Regions from separate parts of the Homo sapiens genome. Here region 2 is linked to region 1. The links are contacts of gene promoters, found by promoter capture Hi-C in human tissues and cell types (Jung and others, 2019). All regions are on one chromosome and are shown on one strand. Each heading gives the region's core, a stretch centred on a gene start or on the middle of the fragment in contact. The rest is flanking DNA. Distances are from core to core; before and after follow the strand shown.

Evidence for each region. Contacts are between HindIII fragments. The study calls those that stand out against the background at their distance.
Region 2: a contact is called between a fragment that was not itself captured here and the fragment with the promoter of NT5M in region 1, in 2 of the 25 tissues and cell types used here (liver and stomach).

What each region holds. Positions count from the first base shown.
Region 1 is chr17:17,300,585-17,305,198 of GRCh38, forward strand. It overlaps NT5M (5',3'-nucleotidase, mitochondrial), which reads left to right and starts at 2,789. Exons shown (of 5, transcript NM_020201.4): 1 at 2,789-3,233. The coding sequence starts at 2,967. RefSeq lists an enhancer at 170-745 and silencers at 2,719-2,888, 2,939-3,038, 3,169-3,358. The HindIII fragment of the contact is 23,347 bases long and covers 1-4,614 here.
Region 2 is chr17:17,081,863-17,086,476 of GRCh38, forward strand. The region is part of intron 3 of MPRIP (myosin phosphatase Rho interacting protein); the gene reads left to right. Among named protein-coding and RNA genes, the nearest start is that of MPRIP, 42 kb to the left of the region's middle. The HindIII fragment of the contact is 3,365 bases long and covers 850-4,214 here.

The DNA of each region.
Region 1 (4,614 bases), core at 1,539-4,038:
CCCGAGTAGCTGGGATTACACGCATGCGCCACCATGCCCGGGTAATTTTGTATTTTTAGTAGAGACAGGGTTTCTCCATGTTGGTCAGGCTGGTCTCGAACTCCCGACCTCAGGTGATCCGCCCGCCTCGGCCTCCCAAATCCTGGGATTACAGGCGTGAGCCACCGTGCGCGGCCTGATGGATGGAGTTTTTAAAAAACTGCAACGGCAACCCAATATAGAAGGCACAGCAGGAGCCCCGCCCCTTCTGAGTTGGCGGGGCGGGAGTTCCCCAGATGCCGCTGCAGTTGCCCTGCTGCGGCTCTGGCCCAGCATCTCTGTGCTCTTGGGAACCTGTGAAGGCTCCACTGCCCCTCGCAGGCTCGGAAGTGCCTGCTCCTGCTGCCTGGCTTCTCCCTGCTGTTGGTGCCTGCTTCAATCTCGGAGCAAAGTCGGGCCGAGCTAGGGCGCCGTCACAGCCCAGCCGGGAGTGCACACGCTCAGGGCAGCACTGACACGCCAGCCCCCTGCCTCCTTGGCCCCCTCCGGACTTGGGTGCCAACAAGCATCGGAGAACGGCCGAGGGGGGCATGAGGACAGCCTGGTGTTGGCCTGCAGGTACCCCTTGGCATGAACAGCCTGGGCGCCATGAACAGCAGCAGGAATGCAGACAGCTCCTCGGTGGAAGGGGGCGGGTCCCTGGTGAAGCCCCACCTTCAATCCTGGAAGGGCCTGAAGCCTGGGGGCCAGGTCACCAGTCCCAGTACCAGAGCGGGGAACTTGTGGTGCTTTTCCCCAGGCCTGCTCATGGCCACCTATGGCCGCCCATGGACCAATCAGCACTCACTTCTTCCCCTCTGAGGTCCATAAAAAACCCTGGACTCAGCCAGACTCAAAGAGAGGACGGGTAGATGGGGAGAAAACCAGCTGCAGAGAGGAACTACCCTTTCTGCTGAGAGCTGGACACTTGTTGGGATGAACTGCCTACCAGAGAGGAGCTACCCTCTCTGCTGAAAGCTGAACACTTGTGGGGAAACCCTGGCTATGGAGAGGAGCTGCCCACTGCAGGTCTCTTCTGAAGTATTCTGTTGCTCAATAAAGCTCCTCTTCGTCTTGCTCACTCTCCACTTGTCTGCCTACCCCATTCTTCCTGGATGCAGGACAAGAACTCGGGACCTGCCAAATGGTGGGGCTAAAAGAGCTGTAACACAGGCTGGGTGCAGTGGCTCACGCCTTTAATCCCAGCACTTTGGGAGGCCGAGGGGGGTGGGGCGGATCACCTGAGGTCAGGAGTTTGAGGCCAGCCTGGCCAACATGGTGAAACCCTGTCTCTACTAAAAATACAAAAATCGGCCGGGTGCGGTGGCTCACACCTGTAACCCCGGCACTTTGGGAGGCCGAGGCGGGCAGATCACAAGGTCAGGAGTTGGAGATCAGCCTGGCTAACATAGTGAAACCCTGTCTCTACTAAAAATGCAAAAAAGCTGGGTGTGGTGGTGGGCGCCTGTAATCCCAGCCACTTGGGAGGCTGAGGCAGGGGAATCGCTTGAACCTGGGAGGTGGAGGTTGCAGTGAGCCGAGATCCTGCCACTGCACTCCAGCCTGGGCAACAAGAGCAAGACTCCCTATCAAGAAAAAAAAAAAAAAAAGGGAGAGAATGTGGTACATATATACCATAGAATACTTCACAGTCATAAAAAAAGAATAAGATCATGTCTTTTGCAGCCATATGGATGGAGCTGGAGACAATTATCCTAAGCAAACACAGGAACAGAAAATTAAATACCTCATGCTCTCACTTAAAAGCGGGAACTAAACATTAAGTAAACATGGACGTAATGATGGGGACAACAGACACGGTGACCTACTTGAGGGTGGAGAGTGGGAGGAGGGTGAGGATGGAAAAACTACCTATCAGGAACTACGCTTATTACCTGGGTAATAATAATCTGTACACTAAACCCCCAAGACAGTCAATTTATATAACAAATCTGCACATGTATCCCTGTACTTAAAAGTTGAAAAGAGGCCGGGCGCGGTGGCTCACGCCTGTAATCCCAGCACTTTGGGAGGCTGAGGTGGGAGGATCGTTTGAGCCCAACATAGGAAGACTCCTGTCTCAAAAAAAAAAAAAAAAAAAAAAAAATTACCAGGGTGTGGTGGCAGGCCCCTGTGGTCCCAGCTACTCAGGAGGCAGAAGCAGGACGATCCCTTGGGCCCAGAAACTCAAGGCTGCAGGGAACCGAGATCATGCCACTGCTTCCACCCTGGGTAACAGAGCAAGACCCCGTCTCCAAAAAAAAAAAAAAAAAAAAGCAATACAGGGGTACTTAATATTTATTCATATATTTACCTGAGAATCATCAGTTTTACTAAGGCTGTATGATGTTAGCAGATATTGGTTCTATCAGTCTCTCCGCAGACATTTGCTGTAAATAAAGCAGAGAGGCTTTCAGAGTGCACCCTGTTTTTGTTCCTCCATCCTGTTGTCTGGATCCCCTTCTAAAACGTAAGTTCCAGGATGGCAGGAACTTTGTCTATTTGGTTCACACTCGACACAGTTAGTGCTCAAAAATGTCTAACGACACAGGCCTGCTTCTCGGTTTGCACTGCTCCTCCATGGTAGTCTGTGCAGTGGGAGAAGGCAGCCCGGGCCCAGGGTCCACGGAGAAGACGCAAATCGACAGCGCGGGAGCGCGGACCTTCTGGAGGCGCGCGGCGCTTACCGCTGTCCGTCCTCGAAGCCCCGCCCCGGGGCTCCGCCTCCGCCGGCGCGTGTTCCTTTAGGGACCGCGCGCGCCGCGGCCTCGCTCTGGGGCCGGTACTTGCGCGCCCGCACCCCGCGCTCCCCGCCCCGCTCCCCGTCCCGCGCTCCACGCGCGCCCCAGCGTTGGGGGCTTCTCCTCCGCGGCGGGAATGTCTGGCCGGCTCCGGCAGCACGGCGCGGCCCAGGTCCCCGCGCCCACGACGGGCCAGCGCGCTGGGCCATGATCCGGCTGGGCGGCTGGTGTGCGCGGCGGCTCTGCAGCGCGGCGGTTCCCGCGGGGCGGCGCGGGGCGGCGGGCGGGCTGGGCCTGGCGGGAGGCCGCGCCCTACGGGTGCTGGTGGACATGGACGGCGTGCTGGCTGACTTCGAGGGCGGATTCCTCAGGAAGTTCCGCGCGCGCTTTCCCGACCAGCCCTTCATCGCGCTGGAGGACCGGCGCGGCTTCTGGGTGTCGGAGCAGTACGGCCGCCTGCGGCCAGGGCTGAGCGTGAGCGTCCCCGCCCCGCCCCGCGCCGGGCCTCCTTCTCGCCCCGAGCCCCAGACACCGCCCCTGCGCCGGTGACCTTGGACGGTCAGCGCCCCAGCCTCGGGGTGGCCCTCTGATAGAATAGGGTCTGGGGGGGACTAGGGGCCACAGCGCACCGGGAAGATGCGGCCCCGCGCTCAGGATCTGTTGGCTGCCATCCAAGGTTTCTGAAAATGCGGGAGAGTACAAAGTGTTAATATACCTAACTCTGCATTTAAAGCTGACTTCAAAATTTGTGGCATATTTGGCCTCAAGTCGTTTGTTAAATTTTTAGAAAAATAAACGTTATAAGTTGTCCTCTTTCACCCCGACCGCAGTCACATTCCCACTTCTTTGTCCCCAGGACTTTGATGGGTGTCTTTACCCATCTTTTTTACTGTTGTCCATGAAAGCATAGCTTCCAGGGGTATTTGAGGCCCAGAGAGGTTGTGTGACTTTCTGGGGGTCACACAGTGAGTCAGTGGTCCAGGTGAGGTGGGATCCACCTCATGTCTTATCCCCTTGCAGAGCTGGCCTTGCTGAACACCTGAGCTCAACCCCTACCATCCGACTCCCGAGGTGTTCTGTCCAGGATGGATAGAGGGGAAAGATCCAAGGAGGGACGTTTACACACAGATCTTGGTTGGTAAATTTGAAGTATTTTGCAAAAGGAACAGGGGATTTTGGTATGCACAAAATTAAAGAGGCTGAGTGTTTTTTGGCATCCCTTGATTGGCCACCTAGGGTTGCTGCTGGAGGGTTTGATAAAGAGGAGAAGGAAGTTACAAGAGCCCGTTTTTTAGCCACAAGTTCACTGCATCCTCTCTTTTGTTGGGTAGATATTATTATCTCTGTTTTCCAGATGAGGAAACTTGCCCCAAGTCACATGCTGCTCAGGGGCTCAGTCAGGACTCAAACCCAAGTCTGTCTGCCTCCCAAGCACAGTTAGTGCTCCCCACTCCACAGTCCTGTTCTCTGTACTACTGTCTCTAACAAGTGACATTTCTTCTGACATCAGAAAGATGCCTCATCAGTAATGTGGTTTGTTGAGGGACAGGTGTTAAAAAAGGAAACCAAGTACCGTTTGTCTCCATCAACACCAGGCACTTCAGAAGGTGACTTTCACAGAGCCCAGTGTGCTGAGCTCTTCTACAGCGGATGCCTAATGATAAACTTTAAACTGGAGAAAATGCCCTGGTACTTTCTGCAGCCTCAGGAATAGGCTCCAGTGTGTGGCGAGTGTTCATTTATAGGCAGCGCTCGGCATGGGGAGTCTGGACACCATATATCCGCCCGGGAGTGTATTAACGTGGAAACCAAGCCCACCCCCAACTCCGAAAAGTGCAGCAGCTTTTCCAGTTCT
Region 2 (4,614 bases), core at 1,282-3,781, 220 kb before region 1:
GGCAAATTTCCCGAAAAAGGAAAAGAAATTTCTCAAATGCAGGCTGAGGTGAGGTGGGGTCCGGGCAGCCTCACAGACAAGTAAAAGCCTGAGAGATTTGGCTGGGCCCCTGGTTTTTCAGGAGTGGACAAAGCAACAATCTAGAAACCCAGATTGCTGCCTCTGTCCTCTGCCTTTGTTTCTCCACCTGTAAAGTGCTGCCCATGATTTTACCTAATTCTGTCACCAAGTTTTTGGGGACTGATGTCGAGCTGAGGTGTGGATGTCACCAGACATCACTAGAAGGCTCTTGGGAGGAGCTCCAGGTCTAGAAGGAGAGTGGGAGCGCCAGGAGTTTAGGGTGGAGCAGGCCAGGCCATGAGGCTTTGGGATTCTCAAGGGCCTGCTCTCCAAGGCAAAAAGCTGATCAAATGCTTTTTCCAATTTTTTTTTTTTTTTTTTTTTTTTTTTGAGACGGAGTTTCGCTCTTGTTGCCCAGGCTGGAGTGCAATGGCGCAGTCTCGGCTCACAGCAACCTCCGACTCCCAGGTTCAAACCATTATCCTGCCTCAGCCTCCGGAGTAGCTGGGATTACAGGCATGGGCCACCATGCCCAGCTAATTTTGTATTTTTAGTAGAGATGGGGTTTCTTCATGCTGGACAGGCTGGTCTTGAACTCCAGACCTCAGGTGATCCGCCCGCCTCGGCCTCCCAAAGTGCTGGGATTACAGGCATGAGCCACCGTGCCCGGTCTGTTCGAATGTTTTTAACTGTGGTAAGTACACTGGAAATTCACCATCTTAATCGTTTTTAAGTGTGCAGTTCAGTGGCATTAAGTACATTCACATTGTTGCACAACCACCACCACCGGTCTCTCTCCAGGACCCTTTTCAACTTGCTAACTGAACTGTGCACCCATTGAACTATAACTCCCTTCCCCAGCCCCTGGAAACCCCCATGCTATTCTCTGTCTCTATGAATTTGACTCCTCCAGCACCTCACATAAATGGGATCATGCAGTGTTTGTCCTTTGTGACTGGTGTATTTCACTCAGCATAAGGTCCTGAAAGATCATCCTGGTTGGTGTCAGAATTTCCTCCCTCCTGATTGTGGTAGGTCTGATGATCTTGGACCATGTCTGCTGACCCCAAGCCTCTCACACATGGAAGCCATGGAGAGACTGAGGCCACCTTCTGTGGCAGGCATGGTGCTGAGGGCCGGCCTCCATGGTGTGGAGCTCTGCTCCATCCTAGCCTGGAGAGTCCTTGAGCATCACGAGAGATGAGAGCTGCCTGACTGTGTAGGGGCTGTGCTAAGGACTCATAATCTCAGCTCACATCCTCGGACATAGTAGAGAAAACACTTCTAGCTCTTGGATATGTGCCTTTTTCAGGGGCAACCTGGGAGTTTGTCAGTCCCGTAAGATGTGAAGTTCCAGCCTGAGAAATTAATTTGGGGTGCCTGTGTACTTGTGTATAAAGTAAACAGGCTTGGTCCAAAGGATCTTCAGAGCACTCCAGGTGCAGACAGGTTAGGATTCTGGTTTATTTTGAGTTTGCTTCCTATAGGAGAGTGTCCAGGAGGTTGCCTTGTTCTTGGGACCTCTGCTCACCTCACTCTTGACAAATTTCTGCAATTTTTGGTGGTATTAAAGCCATGAGCAGCCCAACGTTGCCTAGGCCTGTGAGAGCCTAGGAGGAGGGGCATTACCGCTGAGCCCTGCTGTCTTTAGGATCTATCATTTGAGGTTTCTCTCCCTTTTCTGCAGCTGACCGCCCAGTTCCCATTGCTCCCTAAGCCATTTTTTTGCAGATGTTGCCCTGCATCAGAATCTGCAGGGCGAGGCTGGGAAACCAGTTTAAATAACCACTTTGTGTGTTTTTTTGTTGTTGTTTTTGTTTTTGTTTGTTTGTTTGTTTTTGAGATGGAGTCTCACTCTGTCGCCAGGCTGGAGTGCAGTGGCGTGATCTTGGCTCACTGCAACCTCCGTCTCCCGGGTTCAAGTGATTCTCCTGCTTCAGCCTCCCGAGTAGCTGGAACTACAGGCCCGCGCCACCATGCCCGGCTAATTTTTTGCATTTTTAGTAGAAACGGTTTCATCGTGTTAGCCAGGATGGTCTCGATCTCCTGACCTCGTGATCCGCCCGCCTCGGCCTCCCAGAGTCCATGTGATTTCTAACCACTCCATTTGAGAACTGCTGCTTCAAGCTCTGACTTTGTTTCCTCTAGCTCGGAGCTTTCCCAGGCAGGCGAGAGGAACCATCTGCTCCTCCTTGGTGCTGAGGCACCTCCCGGGCATCTGATTCTTTGGGAACCATAGTGGCTGCTGTGTCCGTAACAGAGCGGTTGAGAGGACACTAGGCCATGGAAGGCCTCTTCTGTGGTGAAGCTCATACCTTTCAGGACCCACATGAACATATGCAGACTAAATCCCTAGCAGAACCATGATGTGTAGGCTCTTAAAGGCGGTGGGTGGTTGGGGAGGCAGAGAAGTCTTCTGGGAGGAGACAGGTGGCACTTGGCTGCCTTTTCGCTCATCACAGAGATTCGGGAGGAGCCATGTGCCCGGCCGGGGCTCCTTGCTGGCACTTTCTGCCCATTCTCTATCCTACTTCTCACAATGGTAGATACCATGTCCATTTCACAGTTGAAAAGACTGAGGCCCAGAGAGATTGCGAGGTGGCTCAACTAATGAGTGACAGACCTTGATGTGTAGGCAAGGCAGACTCCTGCTGAGAGAGGGATGGTGTCTTTCCTTCACCAAGTGATCTTGTCCTTCACATTCAGAGAGGCCGCTCCACCAGCACCTGCTGCCTCGTGCGGGTGGAAAATAGGGCTTGCTGGAGGCCAGGCAGGGCTCTCAGTGTCCTTCCTGACCCTCTGGTTTGTCTGTTGCTGCAGACTGACCCAACTATAGTAGCTGACCTGTGTCTTTATTAATGCCATTGAACCAAGCTAGCTGCAGGCCTGCAACGCTGTAGGGTCCACCTGCCTTCTTTGCTACATGGGCATATGAATATATATTCAGAGAGATTTACAGAAATCAGAACAATAAGAACATAGAGCCTGTAACTGTCTGAGAGGCAGAGAAGCTTCCTTAGGCCTGGAGGCCCTTCATGTTTAAAGGACAGGAAGGGGCAAGACAGGGAACCGGGGAAGATGTTTTATGGGTCAGTCTTATACTTTCAGGTTTAGCTTTAAATCTGTCATGTTTCAGCCTTGCCCTGGCCTTTGTGCTGAGGTCCTGGTCGCAAGGGAAAGGAGGCAGGTCCTGTTGTGTGGTGCGTGGAGCCCAAGTACCTTAGGGAGGGCTTGTTGGAGTGGGGTCAGTAACTGTGGGGTCACCCAGGCCCTCTCTCCCTGTGTAGGCACCTCCCGGGCTATTCGGACCACAGGAAGCCCTGTGTTCTTTCCTCCTCTGCTCAGCTGCTCATTTCTATTTCTGTGCTGTGTGTTTTCAGAATCAGATCATTTAAAAAAACAACTTTGGACTCGGGTGTGTTTTCATCTTTACATGAGCCCCACGAGCAAGGTATGAGGGGCTGTTAATGGGGGAGGTAGCCCCCGCAGGCCCTCCCCATGCATCGCATTCCCGCGGGGTCCCTAGGTGCTTTCAGACTTTTGGTTGAGAGACTTCGGTCTTTAAGTGGAATTCTGCACGGAGTCTTAATACAAGTTTTAAAATGTATACAGTCAGGTGCTGCTTTATTTGAAGTTTTGGAATATTTCTGACCCCTCCCTCATCAACAACCCCTGCCCCTGGCAGCTGCAGAAAAGAATACACACTGACGGCTGGGTGTGGTGGCTCACGCCTGTAATCCCAGCACTTTGGGAGGCCGAGGCGAGCAGATCACGAGGTCAGGAGATCGAGACCATCTAGCTAACACGGTGAAACCCCATCTCTACTAAAAATACAAAAAAATTAGCCAGGCATGGTGGCGGGTGCCTGTACTCCCAGCTACTCTGGAGGCTGAGGCAGGAGAATGGCATGATCCCGGGAGGCAGAGCTTGCAGTGAGCTGAGATCACGCCACTGCACTCCAGCCTGGGCAGCAGAGTGAGACTCTGTCTCAAAACAAAAAGGAATACACACTGACCAGACCGGACCAACCTCCTTCTCTGCGGAATTATCCAGGTGCCCAGAGGCCCAGATCACAGACCTGTTCAGGAAAGGCACCTCTTCTTGTGCAATCATTTGATAATTTTTCCAAATGAATAAATTTATTTTTTAAAGATTTCCCAAAGTAGTCAATGTCTTCAAGCTCTTTGCCAGTGGTGACTGGTGAATGAGCAGTGCCCATGTTTATAGGTGAACTCTCAGGCACACGGAGGCTTGTGTTCACAAGGAGAAGCGGCTGGGTCCGGAGCACAGTCCATTGGCTTTCAGGGCTGGCATGGCCACGAGATTCCAGAAATTGAAGACAAGCCAAGGGTGTTGAGAAGGTTCTTCCAGGGTGTTGAGGATTTTTTACCCCTGCCCTCCACCCGACTTGACTTTTCAGGACACAGAGCCTTAGATGAGTCCCCATCCCGTCTTGATTTGGTCATGACAATTGAGATGTTGCCTATTTGTAACAATGAATTCCTTAATGAAGGAAGGTAGATTCTTGGCTGGAAGATGAGGTCTGAACCAGTG